Linked DNA regions of Homo sapiens: region 2 is linked to region 1. The links are contacts of gene promoters, found by promoter capture Hi-C in blood cells and fetal thymus (Javierre and others, 2016). All regions are on one chromosome and are shown on one strand. The core of a region is centred on a gene start or on the middle of the fragment in contact, and the rest is flanking DNA. Distances in the headings are between cores, read along the strand shown.

The links. The method cuts DNA at HindIII sites, captures the fragments that hold promoters and counts their contacts. A CHiCAGO score of 5 or more calls a contact.
Region 2: a contact is called between the fragment with the promoter of PARD6B here and the fragment with the promoter of AURKA in region 1, in 1 of 17 cell types (fetal thymus). The highest score is 6.5, in fetal thymus.

Annotation. Positions count from the first base shown.
Region 1 is chr20:56,386,027-56,393,464 of GRCh38, forward strand. AURKA (aurora kinase A) reads right to left here and starts at 6,189. Exons shown (of 9, transcript NM_198437.3): 1 at 6,142-6,189; 2 at 2,130-2,176; 3 at 231-507. The coding sequence starts at 2,171. It overlaps CSTF1 (cleavage stimulation factor subunit 1), which reads left to right and starts at 6,619. Exons shown (of 6, transcript NM_001324.3): 1 at 6,619-6,687. RefSeq lists enhancers at 60-1,259, 6,335-6,574. The HindIII fragment of the contact is 5,454 bases long and covers 1,003-6,456 here.
Region 2 is chr20:50,726,569-50,733,353 of GRCh38, forward strand. It overlaps PARD6B (par-6 family cell polarity regulator beta), which reads left to right and starts at 5,012. Exons shown (of 3, transcript NM_032521.3): 1 at 5,012-5,284. The coding sequence starts at 5,219. RefSeq lists silencers at 897-1,006, 4,355-4,564, 4,665-5,454 and enhancers at 1,963-3,162, 4,115-4,164. The HindIII fragment of the contact is 2,238 bases long and covers 4,197-6,434 here.

The DNA of each region.
Region 1 (7,438 bases), core at 4,939-7,438:
CTCCCTGGGTGCCCAACTCTTCCAAGAGGGTGAGAATCAGGTCTGTATTTTTAGCATAGGTCTGGCCCATGGGCAGACACTGTTACTTCAACCCAGACACCATATTTTCTCCCCATCCTCAACAGATATAAAAGCTAAGGCTCCAAACAATAAGTGCAAGTATATACACTGGCTTTTTTAGCAACGACGACAAAGAAGGACTATCCAATGAGTCTCAAAAGCTAGTTTACCAGGTGCCGATGGCAGGGGCTGCTTGCTCTTTTGGGTGTTATTCAGTGGCCTGGAGACAGGATGAGGTACACTGGTTGCCTGCAATTGCTTCTGCTTCTGATTCTGAACCGGCTTGTGACTGGAGACAAGCTTTTGTGCTTGCAAAGGAATGCGCTGGGAAGAATTTGAAGGACACAAGACCCGCTGAGCCTGGCCACTATTTACAGGTAATGGATTCTGACAAGGAAATTGCTGAGTCACGAGAACACGTTTTGGACCTCCAACTGGAGCTGTAGCCTAGAATGGAAGAGAAAATAAACTTTCTGGCATTCATGAAAGCAAAAGATGAATATATTGAGAATTTCACAAAGTTTGTTCTCTAGTATAGCAAAATAATGAATGTCACTGATAAGAGATGGAAGGTGAAAAGGTATTTTAATCAGTACCTCCAGAGGATAGTTAGTATGTGGCTAAGAATACCTGAATGATACCTTCTATCCCCTCCAATTCCTCACCCCTAAAAATCATGCTTTATTAACAAATATCCATTAATGAAGGAGACACTTTCTAAAATTTCTCAATAATTTGGAAATAGACACTACATTGCTATTTGGCAAAAAGCTATGATACAAAAACTTTATGCCAAAATCTCAGTTCCATTGAAATTTCTTTGATAATATACGTTTAAGAAAAAGACCAAAAAAAAATACGTCAAAACGTTCAACAGTGGTATTATCTTCATGAAGTTTTAGAAGAGTCTAAGTTTTCATATATCGAAGATTTTCCACAATAAGCTTATTACTGTACTATTGATTAACCAATGTTTCATTTTCCAAGTATTGACAAAATGGAATTGAGCAAAAAACTGACAAAGAGGAAACAAATGTAGACACTTCACAAAGTTACTACTAAAATGTATTATTATTATTATTTTTGAGATGGAGTCTTGCTCTGTCACCCAGACTGGAGTGCAGTGGCATGATCTCGGCTCACTGCAACCTCTGCCTCCCAGGTTCAAGCAATTCTCTGCCTCAGCCTCCCAAGCAGCTGGGACGACAGGCGCCTGCCACCACGCCTGGCTAATTTTTTGTATTTTTAGTAGAAACAGGGTTTCACCATCTTGGCCAGGCCGGTCTTGAACTCCTGACCTTGTGATCCACTCTCCTTGGTCTCCCAAAGTGCTGGGATTACAGGCGTGAGCCACCGCGCCCAGCCTTGAAATGTATTATTTATACGCCTGTAAGTACTGTATTACAACCTTAAATTGTTAAGTTAACTCTAACACCCTCAGCTAATCAAACTAAAAGGGGTAGGAGGGATGAGATTTCCTTCAGCTTCAACAGCTCATTGTAAGTGAGGGACAAGTGCTAGAAATGAAAGCCTCAAAGTCCATCCCCAGCTCAACGGTATGAGTGCTCTACAAAGAGAGGGTGTTAAGACTTCCAAATACAAAGTCAGTTACTCCTGAAATTAGCACACTGTCCACAACGCAGCAGGCATTCAGACAAAGACAAATAAAAAGAAACATTTTAAATATAGAGCAATTTTTTAAATGGCCGTTATCATAGGAACTTAGAATCAAATACAGTAATTCAAGGTAGCCTTTTTCTAATTATTTTATATTTATGGCCAATTTTAAAAGTTTTGAACTCCTGCCAGATGCATTATTACTATTATCCTGCATACAGTGGAGGGATATAGAAACTTAAGCAGCCGATTATAAGACAAAGCAGAACAAAAAAGCTACTCTAAGAAGCAGCAAAATGTTACTGAACACGAGAAAAGTGACTAATTCATATCCAGGATCACAGTAAGGGATCTAAATTTAAATCCAAAGTAAAGGCGGAAAGAATTCCCGACAAGACCAACCTCCATGTGGGTTTATAAATGTGAATGAGATTACAGATTATTCAATTTACCTTAACAGGTCCTGAAATGCAGTTTTCTTTAGATCGGTCCATGATGCCTGAAAAGAAAAAGAAGAACCTTTAATTTGAACAAAGCCACCTGCTTAAAGTGCTGTTGCTCGATAGGCAGCGTTACAGTTCCCCAATCAAAAGGCCTCCACAACACACCGGATTTTACATGTTTTGTCCAAATGAAGCTAATGAGGGAGGGACAGGCATGTGCTTTCCCTGCAAGGCCAACCTCCCCTTGGGCACTGCGTCCCATCCTCTGTCACGGAGTCTTCACTCCTGATGGTCTTGCTGCTCCATCATCTCTCCTCTAATGGATCACTTCCATCCCTGTGCAGCCTACTGGCATACCTGCTACCTTAAAAAAGTCCTCTTTAGGCCGGGCATGGTGGCTTACACCTGTAATCCCAGCATTTTGGGAGGCCGAGGTGGGCGGATCACCTGAGGTCAAGAGTTCGAGACCAGCCTGGCCAACATGGTGAAACCCCGTCTCTACTAAAAATACAAAACTTAGCTGAGCGTGGTGGCAGTCACCTGTAATCCCAGCTACTCGGGAGGCTGAGGCAGGAGAATCACTTAAACCCAGGAAGCAGAGGTTGCAGTGAGCTGAGATCACACCATTGCACTCCAGCCTATGGGAAAAGAGCGAGACTTCGTCTCAAAACAATAAAATAAAATAAAAGTCCTCTTTATTCTATTATCGTTGCTAACAATGACCCCCTCCTCTCCAACAGCAAAGCTCCAGAAGAACCGTCCACACTTGCCACCTCTACTGCTCCTCTCCCCTCCCCTGAGCCCATCCCCACCTGGCTTTTTTGTCTCCACCACATTGTCAGGCTCATGGCTGACACCTACTGCTGCCAAACCCAAGGGTCAATTCCACCTTCCCCGTACTTGCATCCTCAGCAGAATCTGACAAGGTTGATCACATCTTACACTTTTTTCTTCACTTCACTTCCAGGTTTATCTACCACCTAGTCGTCCTGTCTTTCCCTCCTTGCTGGGTCAGTCTCATTTTTGCCAGATCAAGGGTCTGGGGTGACTCAAGAACGAGTCCCTGGACCCTCCACTTCTCCATCTACACCTTCACCAGGGATCCATATCACCCAGTGCCTCAGCTCTAAATGCCTTCATGAGGACCACTCAAAGTGCGTCTTCTGCCCTAGTCTCTCCTTGGACTGTCAGACTTGGATATCCAAGGATTTGCCCAGGATCTCCCAAAAATGTCTGCCAGGCACCTCAATCCTAACATATCCAAAACTGAACCTCTTCCCTTCTCCACTTCTCACCTCCCTGTTCATGGGTGTGCCCTGAGCTCAGGCCTAGAATGACTTCTCCATCTCCAATTACTCCCTAGCCGAGTACATCCAGTCTCTTTGCTTTCAGTACCATCTACAGGCTGAGGACTCCCAAATATTCATTCTTCAGCCCAGACCTCTCCCCTGAACTCTTGATCTACATTTTCTACTTTCTATGCAACATCTGCACCTGATTATCTGAGCGGCATCTCCATTCTAACATGTCCCAAACAGAAGTCCTAATCTCTCCCCACTCTCACCTCCCCAAATCTAGTCTCTAGACATCCTCATCTCAGTGCATGGCAAACCCATCCTGTCAGTTGCTCAGGCCAAAAGCCTTGGCATAATAACCCTTTACGAGGTTCTCTCTCGCAAACCCTTCATTTAATCCACCAGCATATTCTGTAGGCTCTGCCTTCAAGATCACTGCTCACCACCTCTACTACTACCACCTGGTCAAACCATTATTCTCTCTCCCTTGAGTTTTTTCCAACAGCCTCCCAATGGCCTCCCCACTTCCACCCTTACCCTGTCATGGTCCATTCTTAACACTGAGGCCGGCAATCTCATTAACAAATCAGATGTGTTGATCCTCAGTTCAGAAGACCCCCATGGCTCCCAACTCAATCAAAACAATGCAAACTCCTAACCTGCATAGACAGGCCTATTGAAGTCTCACAGAACATGGACCCTAACTACCTCTCTGACTTCATCTCCTCTTCTTGTCAACCGTGTACCAGCCACACAAGGCTTTCTTTCTGCAAATAAGTCCCCTGCCATAAGCATTTGCACTTCTTGCTCCCTTTATTACGCTTTTCCCCCAGGTGTGTAGTTCAGTCTTTCATTTCACTGAGGTTTCTTTTTTTTTTTTTTTGAGATAGAGTTTGCTCTTGTTGCCCAGGCTGGAGTGCAATGGCGCAATCTCGGCTCACCCGCAACCTCCACCTCCTGGGTTCAAGCAATTCTCCTGCCTCAGCCTCCAGAGTAGCTGGGATTACAGACATGCACCACCACGCCCAGCTGATTTTGTATTTTTAGTAGAGACAGGGTTTCTCTATGTTGGTAGGGCTGGTCTGGAACTCCCGACCTCAGGTGATCCACCCACCTCGGCCTCCGAAAATGCTGGGATTACGGGCATGAGCCACCGCGCCCGGCCTTCACTGAAGTTTCTTATCAAATATCCCCGCACTCTGGCCTGGGCAATGGAGTGAGACCCTGTCTCAAAAAAAAAAATTAAGATTACCATTTTACAATTAAGCAAATAATTCCATGATGAAGCCAGGCCCAGACTACAGGCTGCAGCCCTTATAAAAAAACAGTGGGTAAGTAAAAGTTGATAAACAGCAACAAGGAAATGCACACTTGTGTTAATCAAATATTTAATTTCACACATGCTCTAATGCTTTACTTCCCTTACAATTCTAAGTAGCAGTCTAATGAGATCACATAGGCCTAACAACATTTATTCAACATTCTTCTGACAGAAGCTACAGGCATTTGCTCCAATTTATTCTACCTTTCTTTCTAGGGAAATTGAATAACAAGCAGAATGGAATAAGATTCTAATCCAGAATTCTGGAGACAACGCCAAGGAGACTGCCCTTCAGGTGACTCTAATCTGCAACCAGATTGAAGAACCAGATGACTTTCACAGGATCCATTCAGTTCAAACCAGAAGTCCTACTATTTTGAATAGAAAAGCTGTTAGGCTAATAGCGCAGGAGGTTTATACGGTTTATTCCTTCCTCCCTCAGACCTGTGCATGTCTGCAGAGATGAAGGGAAGGACGAACTGAGTAGGTTGCTGAAAAACGTTTAATTCAAGGGACAAGGAAGGTTACGGAAGAGGAAGAGACATTACGAGAGTTAAGGACAGTGGCTACGTCTACCTCAGCCGGATGGTTCTTAGAAATGGAGACTCTGAGGCCTAACCCCAGGTCTAAAAAAACAGATTCTGCATTTTAACGTCCCCAGACGATTTGTATGCACCGGTCTGCATCCCTAGTTCTCAATGAAACCTAAGAATCATCTGGAGAGTTTGTTAATAACTAGACACCTGGGTCCTACCCCTCAGAGATTCTGATTTACCGGGCTCTCGGTGGAGCTATATGTTTAACAAGCACTGCAAGTTATCCCGGTACAACTGCTCCAAGGTCTACGGTCTGAGAAGTACGGACCGGGAAGGCCTCTGCAAGGAGGTTCTCATTCATCAATTCACCCACTCATCCAGCCAGGACAAGGGCCTTCTTAGGCTATTCTATCTAAAGCGGCCCCCGTTAAACCGCACTCCTGCTTTTCCTCTGTAACACCCACCCCAGCTGCAAGTTCTCCGTACGCTTACCGTCTGTCTCCCCACCCACTAGAACGTGAACTCCAACACAGCAGAGACCTTCTGTGCTTTTCTTACCCAGGTGATCTCGGAGGACAAAATCCAATCTGAAGCCCACCCACCCCTCCCGCGCATGTCAACACCACTCAACAAACCCCTTGTACCTCTAGCTGTAATAAGTAACAAGCAGTATCCTACAGGGCGCCTCGGTGCCCAGGAGCGGATGCAAAGGCGCTGGGCGGGCACAAGGCAGCGCCAAGGACACTCAGGGACGGAGGAACCGACAGGGGACTTGACGCTCCGCCACTCCGACCAGCCGCCCCTTGTCCCCGCCGTCCTCGTCCGCCACTGAGATATCCCCCACGGTCTACCCACCCGTCGGCTCCCACCTGCGACCCAAGGACCCAAGTCTTCCAAGAGCTCAGCCGTTAGAATTCAAAGGTTCTTCTTTTTAAATAGGAGTTAAACCCTCTAGCTAGAAAGCCGATTGGCCTGCGCTCGAGCGAGGCTGCCTTGTGATTGGTTGACAACAAACCCGACGCCTTGAGTCGCGTTTAAGGGCGCACACCGCGCGCAGGCGCACTTGCTCCCTAAGAACCCGGAAGTGGTGGAGCCAACGGCCAGCCAGACCTGTGGCAGTCCCAGCCCCAGGGTGCTCTCCGCGGTCGGCCATTTATCGGTGAAGCAACAGCCCCTTGACGTCAAGCTTGACGCATTGGAGATAAAGTCCAAGGAGGTGAACTAACCTTTGAACGTGCCAGTAAGTAAGATGGCGAGAAAAGCAAGAGAGAGTGGGACCGATCGATAGCGCAGCGGTCGGCTTGGCGCCCTTTCAGCGTGCGCAGTGAACGTGCGCTCGGAGCGGTAGATTGGGCAGGATTCGCGCCTCCATTTTTCCAGGAGAGAGCGGGATACCAAGAGAACCGGACCAGCTGGTACTGGGACACGGGGAGAGTAGCTGGTGCGGTCGGCTGGGGCATTTAGAGAAAACCACAGAAACGACTGGGGCGAGACTGGAAGAGTCGAGAGTTAGCAAGGTGGCATGCGCCTCTACTTTGCGTTTCCTAAGTTGCCCGGCTTGGCCTGCACCCCTTCCTCTTCTCGAAGGGCCTCGCTTCCATTCCCACCCAGTCCTTAGTTCGCCTCTGCATCCAGATGGTCGCGGCGCATATAGTGAGGGGGCATCTGTGTTCTAGCCTTTCCAACTGCGATGTATCCGGTCCTGGATCGGGTTCTTGTCCTCGTGTGCTCACCTGCAAATTGGGGATAATTAGGCTTCTGTTTACCTGGCGAGTGAACGTTCTGTGGGAGTTGAGAAGTTAGGGGTGGGCCACTTAAAATATATATATATATACACACACACACACATATACATATATATACACACACATATGTGTGTGTGTGTGTGTGTATGTACACCCGGGATGTGCTCAGCAGAAGTGAAGAGACCGGATAGAACAGTGGTGTAGGGGAACCAAAAATGGCTTCCCTCCATCCTTCCAGGTACCTTATTAGGACTAAGAGTTAAATTCACATAAGACGAATTAACAGATTACTGCAGGGTAAACAGGATGTGCATGTAAAGCATTGAGCTAGCATACGGAAATTATTCGAGTCATATTAACCCAACGTTAACAGTAGAATCTCTCATCAACTTTTCTTTGCCAGACTACCCACTTGTGATTT
Region 2 (6,785 bases), core at 3,762-6,261, 5.7 Mb before region 1:
GTCCAGGGTTCCACAGCGGGGTGGTGGCAGAACCGCATGTGACCCCTGAATGGTCAAGTCTAGTGCCCGCCTCCTTAGCTGCTGTGCCCACCATCTCCAGGGGAGTTTATGGTTCCCTCTCCATGAGTCTGACTTCTCAGCTCGACCCTGAGTTCCTTGGAGGCAAGCACTCTGTCGCGTTCATGTCTGTTTCTTTGTCTGATCCATGGTAGGTGCTCCAGGAACGTTTGTTGGAGCAGTCTGTCCATGGAAGGTGCAGTGCTCAACGGCAGGAATCAATCACAGTGTCATTCTTTCGTTGTTGTTTTCCTTTATCTCCATGCACAATGTTATACATACAGTTGGGGCTCATTACATACATGCTACATTAATGAATTATATTATGACAGTAGGTAATAAAAATAATTAGACAGCAATAATGACAATAATATGTAACACTTAGGGCATCCTTACTCTCCGTTGGGCACTATCCTAAGTGCTTTGTATATGAATTAAAACAATTCATTGTCTTATTATGCTCATTTTACGGATGAGAAGACAGAGGCTCAAAGAAGTTAAGAACTTGCCTAAGGTCACATAGTTAGAAAATGGCAGAGGCAGGACTCAACTGTATGTATCTGGCTTGAGTCATGCTCTTAATGATTGCTCTTGGCCTCTCTGAGGGATGTCTACTGAGAGGTTACCCGGTGTGAAAACAAAAAGAAGCATTTATTTATTACACATTTCCATTTTATTTCAAGGAACTCCTTTCAAAGGCTTTGGTAGGCAACATTATTTGCTAAATGAAACCCAGTAATATCTGTACCAGACTTGATGGTTTGCAGAGCAGTTTCATGTATGGTTCCTCATCTGAGCCCTGCAACAATCTGGTGAGGTAGGCATTGCTGTCTACTTCTGTTTATAGAGGAACAGAGGAGAAATCTGAGGCTCTGAGTGGTTAAGTGAACAGGGTCAAGGTCACCCAGACAGCAAGGAGCAGAGCAACGACTCAAATAAATGTCTATCAGTTTAAAAAACAAAGATCTGATGCCTCCAAATATGAAGTTATTTCATGCAACTTAAAATCAAATAAGTAAATAGCAGCTTAGCCAGTTTCTGGCACCTGGTAGGTCTCATAAATGTTAACTATCAACTATCTTCATCAACACCTCCTGGGAAGTGGAATAGTTTGGCTGATGACTGCAGCCTGTCTGTTGACCCTGATGGAAAGATTATTATTTTCATTCCAGTTCATCCCTGGTAATGTTGAAATAATGATCAATCTCCATTATCCCTGGAGTACCATAGAATGTTATGAGCTGGAAGGGGTTGTGGAGATGATCTCATCAGGTCCTGCATTTACAGATGGAGAAATTGAGTCCGAGAGAGGGGTCAGAAAGCAAACCCGTGGCAGACCAAGCCAAGGGCAAGGCTTAGGCACCGTGCCTGGCACATACTGCCTCCTGCAAAGCTGAGTTTTTACCTAAAAGGGCTCTCACGTCCTAAAGGCTACAGAAAACAATTCATTCGTCTCTCTGTCTGTGAGCACCACCACCCCAGCTCCGCGCAAAAAGCAGTACAGTATTATAAGCTATTAACCAGAAAACAGATCATGTGACTTAATTCCACCTCTGCTAAAGGGCTTAAAATGCTTCAGTGAGTAGTCTGATATTCGTAAATATACACTTCAACTATTTCTCAAAGAATGATTAACCAGCTCCATCAGAATTGGAACTTGTGCAATCAAGGAGAAAAAGAGCTGGCAAGAGAAATTTATTGAAAAAATTTTTACCAGCATTACAGATGACTTCTTGCCACCTTTTTTTTTTTTCCTAAGAGTTAGAGGAAGAAGGAAAGGAAGAAGAATCATTACACAATAATGAATTAAGAAAACTAATTGTGGAAAATTACAAACTCCTTTCACCTCACAAGGTAGCTTTCAAACAAACACAACAGGGTATTTGTAGAACCTAAAGACACAGACAGTATTGAAAAGGAGCAGAAAGCAGGAGTGTAACCTTCACTAACTTCTTTCAGAGAGTGGAGAGGCCTGACAGTGTATGGGCGTGATTATCTCTGGTAGCCCATTCTGGACTAACGATTCTGTGAACCTATAATTTAGAGAGTCCATAATGTCATATGTTCACCTTACTTATCTCCCTAACCCACTGAGTATTAATTCTCCCAGGCAGGGGACTAGCTTTTTAGGCCACTTGTAAGTCTTGATCAGCTTTAGCTTGAGGATTTGGGGGTGGGGAGGGATGATGGACAGAAATAAGGTTAGGGTTAGCCTTCAAATGGAAGAAACGGGAATATAAAATCCTCGTCTGTGCTGATCATGCTTCTCAAGAAAGGCTGAAATTCAGGCCCAGTGAACACACTTGTGGCCTTAACATCTCTCAGAATGAAAGGATTTTCTTCCTTCACAATACCTTTATCAAATTCCAACTATTTTCTACTTTTCTTCCTTATACAACCCAGGCGCACGGGTTGAAATAATTTTCCTTAAGAAATCCAGGAAGCTCTGGCCTGGCCCTCCCTCTAGAAAGGAAAGTCCAAGTAAAGAGGGATGCCACACCTGGGGAAGGGAGAGAGGATGTGACGACACCTCCAGGAATGCAGGGCCCACGCAGGTGCACTGGCACCCACGAACTTCCTGATAAATCAGTACCGATAACAGGAGTAAAACTCAACCACCCAACACTCACTCACACAGAGCTGGGGTGCTGCTCCCAGGGTGTGGCCTTGCCAATCAGGGAGAGGAGGAGGAGACCTAAGAACGGAGCTCTCTAAAGGTGGTGACATGGTATCTAGTCCAGCCATGATCAGAGTGTGGTCTCTGGGAGTCCCTGAGACCCCTTTACGGGGGTCTCTGCAAGGCCAAAACTGCTTTCACAAAACTAAGATGTCATTTGTTCTCATCATTCCCATTGTCTCACGAGTATACAATGGAGTTTTCCAGAAGGGACAAGACATGTGATGACATCATCACTCTGATGACTGTTGGAATGCATGCTTGTGTACTCCCATGTTTTGGACACATCCGTTTTAATTCTAAGATAAATATTGAAAGACATTACACATAAACAAAGTACTTTGGGGTCCTCCATGATTTTTAATAGTGTAAAGGGGTCTTGAAAACAAAAAGGTTGGGAACTGCTGTGCTAGTCCAAACAGGGGAGTTACAGGCCCTGACATGCACTTTATTTCCGGCTGAACTTGAGTCACCTCCTATGTGCTTTCAAACAGGGGGTGGAGGCAGCTTGCTTATTTATTATACAGCTTGGATTGGTGTCCTTTCCACCTGTGCTGCCACAGGTGGCCAGAAAAACCTTAAATCCTCCCACAAAACGTCTGGTTACCTGAATCCTCCAGAGGGAAAAAAATGAGCTTCTCGCCTTTGAACCCAAGTGGGGCAAAGAGCCTGCAGAAGGGACACCCTCAGTGGCAGCACCCAGCAAAGACCCATCTGAGTACCCGCTGGGAGTCGGGTTCTGTGCCACTCAATGCCAGCAAAGCACAAGCCGTCCCTGCGCCTTCGGGAGCTTTCATTCTAGGCTGGTGGCAGATTACTCACAAAACTCAGATGCACACAAAAATGGGAAACCTGTAACTTGTAACAAGTGCTGGGCAACAGGGGTACAAGTGTTAGGAGGCCTCCGAGGTGGGCAGGGAGATGAGGGGAGGAAGGTACCCTAACCACTCTTCTTGCCAAATCTCAGGTTGGACCTTCCCCTCCACCTCCATTCCCCTGCCCCCTTCCTGGCTTGCAGGTTTCAACAGCTCTTGGATTCCCGGGTCCCACAGGGAGACCTTGGGACCTGGGAATCTCCTCCAGCCAAAAGCTTCAGTCTTCTCCTCTCCTCCCCATGACCCACAGGGTCTGTGTGAAGAGAGGCCGGGCTCTGGGACGTTCAGAGAGGAGGATTCAGCGTTTTGTTGCTCTGGGACACAGCTTGGTCACTCCGGGAAACGAACACAACCTAGAGGCTGTCATTTGTAGAAACAGCGAATGGCCAAGGAATGGCGGGAGGAGGGAAAAGGAAGACTTTTAAAGAAAAAAAAAAAAAGCCCTGAAAGACTGGACTAGAAATCCTCAGGGAGGCTGGGCCTGCAAGGAGCCTTCCCGCGCCTCAGCCCACTTTCCTTCCCTCTCGACCTGACGGACTTAAGGCGTGCAGAGTCTCTTCGGACAAAATGAAGCCAAGAGAGCCCTAAGCTTCTCCCCCAGCAACCGCTGCAGAGGCGGGAAAACTTGAATTTTGCAACCAAGAGTTGCAGCGGGACGCCTAAGCAACGATAAGGGGCGGTGGAGGGGCGTCGTTGGGGGCTGCAGCATCCCAAAGTGGAAGCGGGAAGGGGGCCCGGCTGGAACCGAATAGCCCCGCAGCGCCTCGGCAACCGGACGGGCGGCGCATCCAATCCCCTGGACCGTGCGTGTGACTGGCGCGCGCTAAGCGGCGCGAGCCCCGGCGGAGCCGGGCAACCAGGCGCGCGCTCGCGCGTGCGCAAAAGGCCCACCCAGCCGAGCCCTTCTTCAGGTGCGCTCGCGCTTCCGGCCGGCCTCCCCGCGTGCCTTCCCGGGGCGGAAACTCCAGCACCCGCGCATGCGCCTTCTGGCTCTCCGGCCTGAAGCGGGGCGGAGGGCCATGGCTTCAGGTGATCCCGCCCCTCCCTCGTAGCGCAGGACCAATCGTGCGGTGGTAGGCGGGGTTTTGAGGAGGCAGCCCGCCCACGCACCGCGCGAGGCGTGTATCGATTGGTTGGCGCCGCGGGCGCAGGTGCGCGCTTTCTATTGGGTGTGGGCGGAACGCGAGGGATTGCGGCATCTTCGGGGGCTGCAGGTGAGCGCGCGCACGCGCCGCGGCTGTGGTCCGCTCGGGTGCGCGCGCGCGGGCTCGCGGGGGAGGCGGCAGAGGGAGAGGTTGCGGCGCTTGTGGCCTCCGCTCCGCCCCCTCCTCTCCTCCAGCGCTGTCGCCGTCGCCGCCGGGGCCCGGAGGGAGGGAGCTGCTTCCCCGCCTGCCGCGCCACCAGTCCGACCCTCGGTCCCGCCGTGTGAGCAGCTGGTGGAGTGGAGCTCAGCGCGGACGCCGGAGCTGCGGCCGCCCCCTCTGCAGGTGCCTGTGAGGAGGCGCCCGGGCCGCAACCGCTTTCCGAGATCCCCAGTCGCGCACTCGCTCCCCGCGCTCCTGAGGGGCCGCCCGGCCGGAGGAGGCCGTCGCGGGGCTCGGCGTTCAGCATGAACCGCAGCCACCGGCACGGGGCGGGCAGCGGCTGCCTGGGCACTATGGAGGTGAAGAGCAAGGTGCGCGGGGCCCGGGCTGGGCGGAGCGGCGGGCCTGGGGGGCCGGGGCCTGGGAGAGGCCGGGCCAGGCTCGGAGCGCCGGGGGAGGCGACGGGCTGAGCTGCCCCGGGGTCTGGACGGTGCGGTCGGGAGACTGTGGGTAATAAACTTGCCGAGGAGGGGGTGGCGGGGGTCAGGGGGCGCTAGTGTCCGCCCCTGGCCCGGGCAGGAAGAAGACCTAGTCCAGCATTTAATCTCATTCCGTAAATCTCATTCCCGTGTTCACGGACGGGAGTAGGGGCCAAGGTATATCCAAGGATGGCGCACACTGAGTGAAATGCGAGGCTGCTCAAAAGGTGTAGGAGAATCCTGCCTGCTGGGCTGTGAGTAAAGGGCCCTGGACCACCCCGTTGTTCCCACTTTCTGTGGTTAAGGGGCGCATCGAGTGGCGAAGGAGAGAGCCCAGTGAACTAAACAGCCCTTTAAAAGTTCGCTTTGCTTCCTGCTGGCGCTCTTTCTAGCACTAACTTTGGTATGCATTTAATCTGTAAAATTAGTACTATCACCTTACGTTGGAGTAGCACTTTACAGTTTGACTCTAGATGCTCTTTTCATTCCATCCTGCTACCTACTCACATCAAGTGCTTTTCCCCTTGACCAACGGTATGCCAATCTGCTGATAATTACTTCGGTATTCACTGAATTTCTAAATCTCAAGGCTCAGTGAGCAGGGTAGTCTGTAGGGAGGGATTAGTTAGGGAATGCCTTCCAAAGGGGGTTTTGAGCTGGAATTTGAAGGTGATCGGCAGCCAAGGGAACACTTTCAGCAAGCGTTTCTTGAGTTGAAGAGTTAAAAGGAGCTTAGATAATCTAGCCCAATTCTCTGAGAAGACTGAGGCTTAGAAAGGTTATGACTTCCTCAAGCTGTTTTTTTGCAAAGCCTTCATGCCTTTTTAATAACTTCTAGACATTGCAGAATACAAAACAGGACACTGGCTGGGCCCTGAGAACATTTAAAATAGAATTGAGAAGGCCAAAACACAGAAAAGGAGAAAATTGAAAGTATATCAATTTCAAAAAAAAAAAGTAATGGAGCATCATAGATGGTAAGACTACTAAGGAGTATGTAAAATCAAGGAGTGATTTGAGTGAGGTACAGTGGAGTAAGGAAAGCTTCCTAGAGCCTCTAGGTAGAATAGTTTTATTGTCTAGGGTTGATAAGCAAAGTTCTGTAAGTTTCTGTAACTGAGAATCACATCGAGAAAATCGACATTCGTTTGTAACATCATTAAAAAATGTGATTTGAGTCTGGGCGCGGTGGCTCACGCCTGTAACCCCAGCACTTTGGGAGGCCGAGGCGGGTGGATCACCTGAGGTCAGGAGTGCCAGACCAGCCTGGCCAACATGATGAAACCCCATCTCTACTAAAAATACAAAAAATTTTTAGCCGGCCGTGGTGGCACATGCCTGTAATCCCAGCTACTTGAGAGGCTGAGGCAGGAGAATCGCTTGAATCCGGGAG